Linked DNA regions of Homo sapiens: all the other regions are linked to region 3. The links are contacts of gene promoters, found by promoter capture Hi-C in blood cells and fetal thymus (Javierre and others, 2016). All regions are on one chromosome and are shown on one strand. The core of a region is centred on a gene start or on the middle of the fragment in contact, and the rest is flanking DNA. Distances in the headings are between cores, read along the strand shown. Region 1 overlaps DCK (deoxycytidine kinase). Region 2 overlaps DCK (deoxycytidine kinase). Region 3 holds the start of RUFY3 (RUN and FYVE domain containing 3).

The links. Contacts are between HindIII fragments. The CHiCAGO score rates a contact against its expected background, and 5 or more counts as called.
Region 1: a contact is called between a fragment that was not itself captured here and the fragment with the promoter of RUFY3 in region 3, in 1 of 17 cell types (fetal thymus). The highest score is 5.3, in fetal thymus.
Region 2: a contact is called between a fragment that was not itself captured here and the fragment with the promoter of RUFY3 in region 3, in 2 of 17 cell types (total B cells and monocytes). The highest score is 5.5, in total B cells.

Annotation. Positions count from the first base shown.
Region 1 is chr4:71,002,800-71,006,040 of GRCh38, forward strand. All of the region lies in intron 2 of DCK (deoxycytidine kinase), which reads left to right. Among named protein-coding and RNA genes, the nearest start is that of DCK, 11 kb to the left of the region's middle. RefSeq lists enhancers at 1,436-2,132, 1,825-2,084 and a silencer at 1,533-1,827. The HindIII fragment of the contact is 485 bases long and covers 1,531-2,015 here.
Region 2 is chr4:71,023,011-71,026,674 of GRCh38, forward strand. DCK (deoxycytidine kinase) reads left to right here. Exons shown (of 7, transcript NM_000788.3): 4 at 549-696; 5 at 2,806-2,921; 6 at 3,655-3,664. Among named protein-coding and RNA genes, the nearest start is that of DCK, 31 kb to the left of the region's middle. The HindIII fragment of the contact is 1,456 bases long and covers 1,420-2,875 here.
Region 3 is chr4:70,720,365-70,724,008 of GRCh38, forward strand. It overlaps RUFY3 (RUN and FYVE domain containing 3), which reads left to right and starts at 1,600. Exons shown (of 18, transcript NM_001037442.4): 1 at 1,600-2,387. The coding sequence starts at 2,210. The HindIII fragment of the contact is 24,519 bases long and covers 1-2,089 here.

The sequences.
Region 1 (3,241 bases), core at 523-3,022, 280 kb after region 3:
CCATTTGCTTGGTAAATCTTCCTCCATCCCTTTATTTTGAGCCTTTGTGTGTCTTTGCATGTGAGATGCGACTCCTGAATACCGCACACTGATGGGTCTTAACTCTGTCTAATTTGCCACTCTGTGTCTTTCAACTGGGGCATTTAGCCCATTTACATTTAAGGTTAATATTGTTATGTGTGAATTTGATCCTGTTATTATGATGCTAGCTGGTTATTTTGCCTGTTAGTTGATGCAGTTTCTTCATAGTGTCGATGGTCTTTACATTTTGGTATGTTTTTGCAGTGGCTGGTACCGGTTTTTCCTTTCCATATTTAATGCTTCCTTCAGGAGCTCTTGTAAGGCAGGCCTTGTGGTGATAAAATCCCTCTACATTTGCCTGTCTGTAAAGGATTTTATTTCTCCTTCACTTATGAAGCTTAGTTTGACTGGTTATGAAATTCTGGGTTGAAAATTCTTTTCTTTAAGAATGTTGAATGTTAGTCCCCACTCTCTTCTGGCTTGTAGGGTTTCTGCCGAGAGATCTGCTGTTAGTCTGATGGGCTTCCCTTTGTGGGTAACCCGACCTTTCTCTCTGGCTGCGCTTAACATTTTTTCCCTCATTTTAACCTTGGTGAATCTGACGATTATGTGTCTTGGCGTTGCTCTTCTCAAGGGCATCTTTGTGATGTTTTCTGTATTTCCTGGATTTGAATGTTGGCCTGTCTTGCTAGGTTGGGGAAGTTCTCCTGGATAATAATCCTGAAATGTGTTTTCCAACTTGGTTCCATTCGTCAGTTTCAGGTATACCAGTCAAACGTAGGTTTGGTCTTTTCACATAGTCCCATATTTCTTGGGAGGCTTTGTTTGTTCCTTTTCATTCTGTTTTCTCTAATCTTATCTTCACGCTTTATTTTTATTAAGTTTTTCTTCAATCTCTGATATCCTTTCTTCCACTTAATCGATTCGGCTATTGATACTTGTGTATGCTTCACCAAGTTCTCATGCTGTGTTTTTCAGCTCCATCAGGTCATTTATGTTCTTCTGTAAACTGGTTATTCTAGTTAGCAGTTCCTGTAACCGTTTATCAAGGTTCTTAGTTCCTTGCATTGGGTTAGAACGTGCTGCTTTAGCTCAGTGGAGTTTGTTATTAACCCACCTTCTGAGGCCTACTTCTGTCAATTCGTCACACTTATTCTCCATCCAGCTTTGTTCTCTTGCTGGCGAGGAGTTGTGGTCCTTTGGAGGAGAAAAGACATTCTGGTTTTTGGAATTTTTAGCTTTTTTGCACTGGCTTTTCTTCATCTTTGTGGATTTATCTACCTTTGGTCTTTGATGTTGGTGAACTTCAGATGGGGTTTTTGCGTGGTTGTCCTTTTTGTTGATGTTGATGCTATTGCTTTTTGTTTGTTAGTTTCCTTCTAACAGTCAGGCCCCTCTGCTGCAAGTCTGCTGGAGTTTGCTGGAGGTCCACTGCAGATCCTGTTTGCCTGGGTATCACCAGCGGAGGCTGCAGAACAGCAAAGATTGCTGCCTGCTCCTTCCTCAGGAAGCTTTGTCCCAGAGGGGCACCTGCCAGAGGCTAGCCAGAGCTCTCTTATATGAGGTGTCTGCCGACCCCTGCTGGGAGCTGTGTCCTAGTCAGGAGGCATGGGGGTCATGGACCCACTTGAGGATGCTGCCTGTCCTTTAGCAGAGCTTGAGCGCTGCGCTGGGAGTTCCACTGCTCTCTTCAGAGCCAGCAGGCAGGATTGTTTAAGTCTGCTGAGGCTGCACTCACAGCCACGCCTTCCCCCAGATGCTCTGTCCCAGGGAGATGGGAGTTTGATCTGTAAGTCCCTGACGGGGGCTGCTGCCTTTCTTTCAGAGATGCCCTGCCCAGAGAGGAGGAATCTAGAGAGGCAGTCTAGCTTCAGGGGTTTGCCAAGCTGTGGTGGGCTCTGCCCAGCTTGAACTTCCAGGTGGTTTTGTTTACACTGTGAGGGGAAAACCACCTACTGAAGTCTCAGTAATGGCGGGCACCCCTCCCCCCACCAAGCTTCAGTGTCTCAGGTTGACTTCAGACTGCTGTGCTGGCAGTGAGAATTTCAAGCCAGTGGATCTTAGCTTGCTGGGCTCCGTGGGGGTGGGATCTGCTGAGCAAGACCACTTGGCTCCCTGGCTTCAGCCCCCTTGGCTCCCTGGCTTCAGCCCCCTTTCTAGGGGAGTGAACGGTTCTGTCTCGCTGGCATTCCAGGCACCACTGGGGTATGAAAAAAAACTCCTGCAGCTAACTCCGTGTCTGCCCAAATGGCTGTCCAGTTTTGTGCTTGAAACCCAGGGCCCTTGTGTAGGCACCCGAGGGAATCTCCTGGTCTGCGGGTTGTGAAGACTGTGGGAAAAAGCCTAGTATCTGGGCTGGATAGCACCATCCCTCAAGGCTTCCCTTGGCTAGGGGAGGGAGTTCCCCCACCCCTTTCACCTTCCAGGTGAGGCGATGCCCCACCCTGCTTCTGCTTGGCCTCTGTGGGCTGCACCCACTGTATAACCAGTCCCAATGAGATGAATTGGGTACTTCAGTCGGAAATGCAGAAATCACCCGTCTTCTGCATTGGTCTCACTGGGAGCTGCAGACCAGAGCTGTTCCTATTTGGCCATCTTGCCTGGGAATCTAAAAGTTTTTAAAAAGTTAAATAATAAAAGTTTTAAAAAATCTAACAGCAAATTAAATTCCTTCATTGTCTTTTCTAATTTTTTTTTTTTTTTGAGATGGAGTTTCGCTTTTGTTGCCCAGGCTGGAGTGCAATGGCTCGATCTTGGCTCACCACAACCTCCGCCTCCCGGGTTCAAGCGATTCTCCTGCCTCAGCCTCCCAAGTAGCTGGGATTACAAGCATGGGCCACCATGCCTGGCTAATTTTTTTTACTAGAGATGGGGTTTCTCCATGTTGGTCAGGCTGGGCCCAAACTCCTGACCTCAGGTGATCCGCCTGCCTCAGCCTCCCAAAATGTTTGGATTACAGGCCTGAGCCACTATGCCCAACCCTTCAGTGTCTTTTCACATTTTGTTTAAAAACAAGCAAATAAGGCCGGGTGCGGTGGCTCACACCTGTAATCCCAGCCCTTTGGGAGGCCGAGGCAGGTGGATCGCCTGAGGTCAGGAGTTCGAGACCAGCCTGGCCAACATGGTGAAACCCTGTCTCCACTAAACATACAAAAATTAGCTGGGCGTGGTGGTGGGCGCCTGTAATCCCAGCTACTCAGGAGGCTGAGGCGGGAGAATT
Region 2 (3,664 bases), core at 898-3,397, 300 kb after region 3:
TTTTCAATTCTTAATAACTATCGAGGTGTCCAAAGAGCATGTCCTATTGATACTTAACATTACTAGAAATTAAGATGCACAAAAATGATTTAAAATTAGCAATAATAAATTCATTACATATTAATATAAATACATTTGACAAAAAGTTATATTTTCTAAAATAAAAAGTAGCTAGAAGAATATCATTGCTTTACATTTTTGCAGATATCTTTAATGCCTCACTTATTAAAAGACAGCTGGATTTTTATTTATGCTTCTGTATTTAATCTGTTATGGTATGTTTGTTTGTTTGAAGTATATTGGTATATGAAGTAATCTGGCCTCTCACAGAACCCCTTAGAAGATCTTGGGGACTTAATGGGGTCCTCACTCCGTATTTTGAGAACCATTGGCCAAAAACATGATGGAAAGACTCTTGTCTTTTTCTGCTTTCCACGGCACTATGTGCCACTGGATTTAGGAGAATGTTTCATGTTCCTGTTCTCTTTTTTATTTCTTTGTTGTTTTTTTTTGAAATGATACATGTGTTGATGAAGACTCTCTTTTAGGTATATTTTTGCATCTAATTTGTATGAATCTGAATGCATGAATGAGACAGAGTGGACAATTTATCAAGACTGGCATGACTGGATGAATAACCAATTTGGCCAAAGCCTTGAATTGGATGGAATCATTTATCTTCAAGCCACTCCAGAGGTAAAACCCAATAAAAATGTGTTTCACTGAAAATTTAAAGAAATATTTAGAACTCTTTTCAGTGGTATATAATGAGGGCAATTTAGTTTAACTCCAGCCTCCCAACCTCCCACTCCCCACCTCTAAATTAGAAACTTGTAACTGTGTAGATAGAAGCATTCTTTTTTCTCAGCAAACTGGAATCCCAGACTGGGCAAGTTGCTGTTTTAGGCTCTTTGTGCTTCCTCAATTCTTTTTTATTTTACTCATTATTTCTTTCTAACATTTGCAGACTCTTCTCATTCATCACAGTTAAAGTAATGAATGTGGTCAAGCAACTCCTAGAATATAGGCTTCATGAGGTGGGACCTTGGGCATTTTGATTACTATTGAATTTCCATTGCCTAGAACACCCAGTGCTGGGCACTGTTGGAGCATATAGTAGGAGCTCAGTAAATATTTACTGAATGAATGGCAATGTTGATGGAGGTCCATATCAAGAAATATTTTATTATGGTTGTTTGTGCCTTGGAATGAGTGGATAATGGCAGCTATCGTTGGGAAAAGACTTAGAGGACCCTTGCCATTTTCCATTAAGGGAGCTCACTTGAAAAGGTGCTTTTTGTGATAGGTTGTAACATAGCTATTCTAGTTACATATGATGTTATATAATGAATACAGGATGACCAAATAGATGCCTTTCATAAAACTAACCTAAATATTAAGATCTTACATTTAATCAGAAGCTTTCTGGTTTTGGTGCGTGCATTTCTATTGTTTCTGTTTTTTAATTCTCATTTTTTCCTTAAGTCACAGGGTAGGCACTGATGAATGTAAATGTTATGACTTCTGGCCTAAAATTAGAATACTGTGTTGCTGTCGAAGCTGGGTTTTCAAAGAAATTAGGTTTCCTATTCCAACGGATGATTTTGTTCTTCATTAAGTAAAGATTTTGTTCTTCATTAAGCAAGGATTTAGCAATTTTTTAGCAATTTCAAAAGTGAATTTTGAAATTCACTTTTATTTTTGAATTTTTTTGTTTTTAATTACAAAAATAGTAAATAAAAATGTGAAAAAGAACATAAGGAATATGAATAATTTCATTTTGCTTGAAACATTTATAGTCACTATTAAGCTAGAATTTAGCAAATATAATAATTTTGAAATTCACTTTTATTTTTGAAAAGGTTTCTTAAAGTTATGAAAATAGTACAAACACCAAAAACATAAATAATACTAATAATTTCATTTTGATACTGATAATTTCATCAGTATTGTTTCTGATATCTTTGGATGAAAGGATTGTTTAATTATTGAAAAGAGAATTTAGAGTAGAGTTTGAAACACAGTTTGTATGCTGCCATGGTCTTATGCATGTCATTTAGGTTGGAGGCTTTTATTTCTTGGAATGCATGAAGAGTTTCTCATGGTATATGAGCCCCCACAAATTATACGAAATTTTTTATGTATGTGTGCTTTTGGGGGACCGTTATCTAGAGCTGCACTGTCCAATGTGGCTATTTAAATTTAGGGTTATTAAAATTAAATAAAATTTAGATATTTAGTTCCTTGGTCACCACACTAGCCATATTTCAAGTGCTTAAAAACCACAGGTGGCTGGTGGCTACCTTATTTGATAATGCAGATATAGGACAGGCATAAAACATTCCAAAGTTGTTTTGGTTGTGCTGATATAGAGTTTTCATCACATTAAGAACCACTGTCTTTAGTGGTTTTATGTGAACTGAACATAGATATTTTGTAATCAAGGTTGGTTAACAGCAAAGTAAGATTATGTTTATAGATTGGCATACCTTTTAGCTGTTGTCTCTGAACATTTTAAGTAGATGTTTAATTTTTTTCTCCTTTTTATCAAACTTAGTATATTTCATGTGTGGATGGATACCAAAAATTTATAGGCTTATTTTTGAAAGTACTGCTTGGCTTAGAGCCACCAAGTGGCTGAAAAGCTCATGGAGGGAAAAATGAATTATTTCAGCTTTTAAGAAGTAATAAGTAGAGATTTTGGCTAGCGTGAGTAGAGAGACACAGAAAAGAAAATTTTGATGGCAGCAGACAAGAATAATTGTTCCCTGCCTTTTTCTTCCATCTCTTATTACTTGCTTTTAGACATGCTTACATAGAATATATTTACGGGGAAGAAATGAAGAGCAAGGCATTCCTCTTGAATATTTAGAGAAGCTTCATTATAAACATGAAAGCTGGCTCCTGCATAGGACACTGAAGTAAGACTTATTTTTATTTACTATTCATTTTAAATACCTTTGTTACCTTTGTTAAATTTTAATCTAAAATTTGGAAGATATGACTAGCAATATGTAAAATTTCCAGTCGTTTTGCTTATTGGTATCTTCCAGAACTAGGTATAGATTTTCATTCTCTTGATTGCAATGAGATCCTATTTACTTAAAGTTTTTATAACTAGTATCCCTTGGTGGTATTGATAGCGTAATATGTGAAATTTCACTTTAAGTGATAAAGTAGGAATATATCTGAACATTATTTAGGTACTCTTTCAGAAAGAATTTTGACTTGGGAGATTGTATAGCGTGGTTGTTGAGAGGATAGACTTTGTTATTAGTCAGATCTTGGCTCAAGTCCAGTCTTACTGGTGTGTGACCTTGGATAGCCTCTGAGCTTCAGAATGACAATTCTGAGCTTTAGTTTTCTCATCTTTAAAAATGCAGAAATTCCTACTTTATTGACTGCTATTTGTTTTTGAAGAGAATCATATGTTACAGTACCCAGCTGTATATATTTTGTACCTAAGTTTTTGGGCTCCATATGGTAAATCTAGATGAGAAAGAAGGGGCTGCCAGATGAAGTACTGCAAAGTAACTTTAGTGTAAATGATTGACAACATTTTGATTTTCCAAGGACATACGAATGAATTTTTAATGTTTCTCTCTTTTTTTTGTTGAATTTCTGATTATTTTATTAATCTCTCTTTTTAAACAGAACCAACTTC
Region 3 (3,644 bases), core at 350-2,849:
GTAGAGATGAGGTTTCACCATGTTGGCCAGGCTGGTCTCGAACTCCTGACCTCAGGTGATTTGCCCGCCTTGGCCTCCCAAAGTGCTGGTATTATAGGCATGAGCCACCGCGCCCAGCCATCCGCCCTGTCTTCGTAACAATATGAAAATGCCAGTTTCTCTACAGAATTTGATTATTAGCATTTTTTTCTTTCAGTTCAGTCTCAAATTATGATGAAGCATTTGAGATTTTAACAATATTCAAGGAGAATTTTTTTAGTTTTCAGAAATTAGGTAAATCAAGATGTCCCTCTGATAACAATCCCTAGAAAGGAATAGTCTCAGGTCATATTTCTTGAATTTGTATGTTCCTCCTTAAAATTGGAACCCTTCAATACAAAAACAAACAAACACTTTCTTTCAATTGTCCAAAACATTTTCAAAGAAAATTCTTATTCTTCTCTTTGTAATTTATGTAGTTCATAAAGCAAGTACCTGCCCTTTTGCTACCAAGGTATAAATGCCTCATTGGATAATATAGGGCCGTGTGTGTGTGTGTGTGTGTGTGTGTGTGTGTGTGTGTGTGTGTGTATTAAGAAAATATAATTGTCTTCAGTATCTTATCGAATGGGAGGATTTTAAAAATATAACATGGTTTAATCTGCTTAGAAACATATTTCATGCTTAAGGCTGGGCATGGTGGCTCACGCCTGTAATCCCAGCACTTTGGGAGGCTGAGGTGGGAGGATCATGAGGTCAGAAGTTCAAGACCAGCCTGGCCAAGATGGTGAAACCCCGTCTCTACTAAAAATACAAAAATTAGCTGGGCGTGGTGGTGGGTGCCTGTAATCCCAGCTACTCGGGAGGCTGAGGCAGAGAATTGCTTGGACCTGGGAGCTGAGATCACGCCACTGCACTCCAGCCTGGGCTACAGAGCAAGACTCTGTCTCAAAAAAGAAAAAAGAAAAAAAAAGAAACGTATTTTATGCTTAATACAGAAACTTGATAAATACAACAAAATCAAAAAGGGGGGAAATTGCCATTAATTGGGAAAGATTTTACTTTTTTAACTTGAAGTTTTTTTTTTGCATTTCTGCCTAACCTAAAAGGTCAGGTTTTTGTACCTTGGAGAAGGAAATTATAAATGCCCAAGAATAAGATATTTAAATTGAAAATCTACTTTAGCTTTTCTTTTTATCTTTTTGTTTTTTTTCCCTCTGAGAACCTCAATTTTTTATGCTTTAGCTTTTCTTAAAACATAACATTTAGCATAGTAAAGAATTTTAATAGCTATGTAGATAAGAATGAAAGAGGTGAATTATATGCTTGTTAAATTAATCTAACTGCCTCTTTTACCATCTTTACTATAGATTATTATCCGGTATTAATTGTCATCCTTTTATTCAGTCCTTGATCCCAAAGTAAGAAGAATTGATGAGGATATGTGCATTGTGTTATGTCTGATCACAGTTTGACTAGCACAGTCTGGAAGTGGGTTGTACAGGATGAGAGAGAGAAGCCTAATTGCTCTCCCAGCATCAGCAGCATCTATAAAGCATCCTGGGAATTGCTTGCCCTACGTTCAGAGCAGCTGGTCACATGAGCCTGAATTTTCAGTTCAGTTCATTAGTCAGCCATTTTGGTCAACACCCTGCTTACTGCGCACGGCCAATCCTATGAGAACTCAGCATCCCAGCTCATCTGAGCAGATCCTGGAAGTGATTTCTGCAGCTCAGGATTTTTTTTTTAAGCTACATTGAAAATATAGGTTTATTTTTTGTTCAGGTTTTTCTTTTATATTTTTTTTCTGCACAAAGGAGGAGGATTTTTCACTTACTCATATCGAGGCCAGATTTTTAAAGCCAGCTAAGGCAGCATCAGCTGTGCGGGATTTAAAGCCTATAGCTCAGCTGAAAAAAAAGGTGGGGGGCAGGGAAGGGAAGATAAAAGGAGAGGAAGCTGGGAGAAGACAAGCATCATCTTATTTTGCTATGTGGTAGGAACTGTCTATAAGATAGTGTAGAATTGTTTATCTTGAGCAGTTTGTTCTTAACCTATAAGGTATTTTTCCTTTTTTTTTTTTTTAAACCTCCCCCACCCTTTTCCTGAAAGCTTTGTTTCAGAGCTTTGTATTGGGTTTTTTTGGTGAGGAGGTTGTATTTATTTTTTTGGTGTGTGTGTGTGAGTGTGTGTGTGTCTGTGTGTGTGTTGTGGTCCCAGCTGAGTCATCATGTCTGCTCTGACGCCTCCGACCGATATGCCAACCCCCACCACTGACAAGATCACACAGGCTGCCATGGAGACCATCTACCTTTGCAAATTCCGAGTGTCCATGGATGGAGAATGGCTCTGCCTGCGAGAGCTGGATGACATCTCACTTACACCTGACCCAGAGCCTACCCATGAAGGTATGGTCAGATCCTGTCCGCTAGTATTTCACCAGCATCCTCATTGTTATGGGGGAGGGCTGGGAGGATCAGGGAGAGGTAGAAAGAACCTACACTCTCAACTGTTAACAGTCCTGAAAACCTTGCATCCTTACTTACCACCCAGCTCCCCTTCTCTTGCTCATGGGGGAAAGATAATTTTTTTTCTTGCCCCTTTAGGTATCCTTTCAAAAGATGCTGGATACTCGTTTAGAGTTCTTTGTCTTTAAGCCTCTAAATAAAACATTTGAGGTCACTTATCACATCTGATTCTATTCAATAATGAGAAAGCTATTAATTTTGTTCATATATGAAAATGTTATAGAAATTGTAGTGATTTATAACACTAAGTTAAGACAACATGACTATAATTATAGGATTGTACATGATGAATACAGTAGAAACACCAGGGTATTTGGTAATGGTATCCTCACCATTATATGAGGATACAATTTTAAGCAAGTTATGACATCTAGGAAATGTTTGATAAAACATTTTTTTAACAATATGGATTATTAGGTTAGATGAGAAAATAACTTTTCAGCATTTATTTATTGAATATGGACTCCTAAGAAAGCATAATGCCTGGAAAGGTTAAATATGATTAATATGGCATCCCTATAGATTACAATAGAATGGTAATATTGGAATCTATTGGCCATTGCTTTTTATAAATTATTTGTGGTAACTATTATGATCCATTTGAGATTTCCACTGTCAGTACCTCTGAGATCTTTGTGGTCTCTTGACTTGCGACTTTTTTCCAGGACTCTTGCTAATTTATGAGAGGTTTTCTGCTTCTACCCTTTAATTCTCTTAATACCACAGAAAGAGAGCTGATTTGAATCATAGCTACAAATCGTTTTGTTTTTAATACAGTTGCTTCTTAGCTAAGGTTTATTCTCTGTCCTTATACTGATGAAAAAAAACAAAAAACGCTTGCATATGAGGAGAAATTCTTTATAAACATCTGCCTGATAGTTAGGCACATCGACAGGACAAAGAAGACCATAGGTGAATTGTACCTAGCAGATGGGGTTAGGAAAGGTGATTCTCTGCCTTTGACCTTGAGTTGAAATCTTATCATGACTCAGAATTTTCCCATTGTGTTTGATAAGCATTTTATCTTCCCAGTCAGCCTTAGCCTTGAGAAAGTTTTAGGGATGGTTAATAACACAGAACACAAAGCAGTCATTTTGGGTGTGTCTTTAAGAACAATGTTTAAGTGGTTTTTAAGAC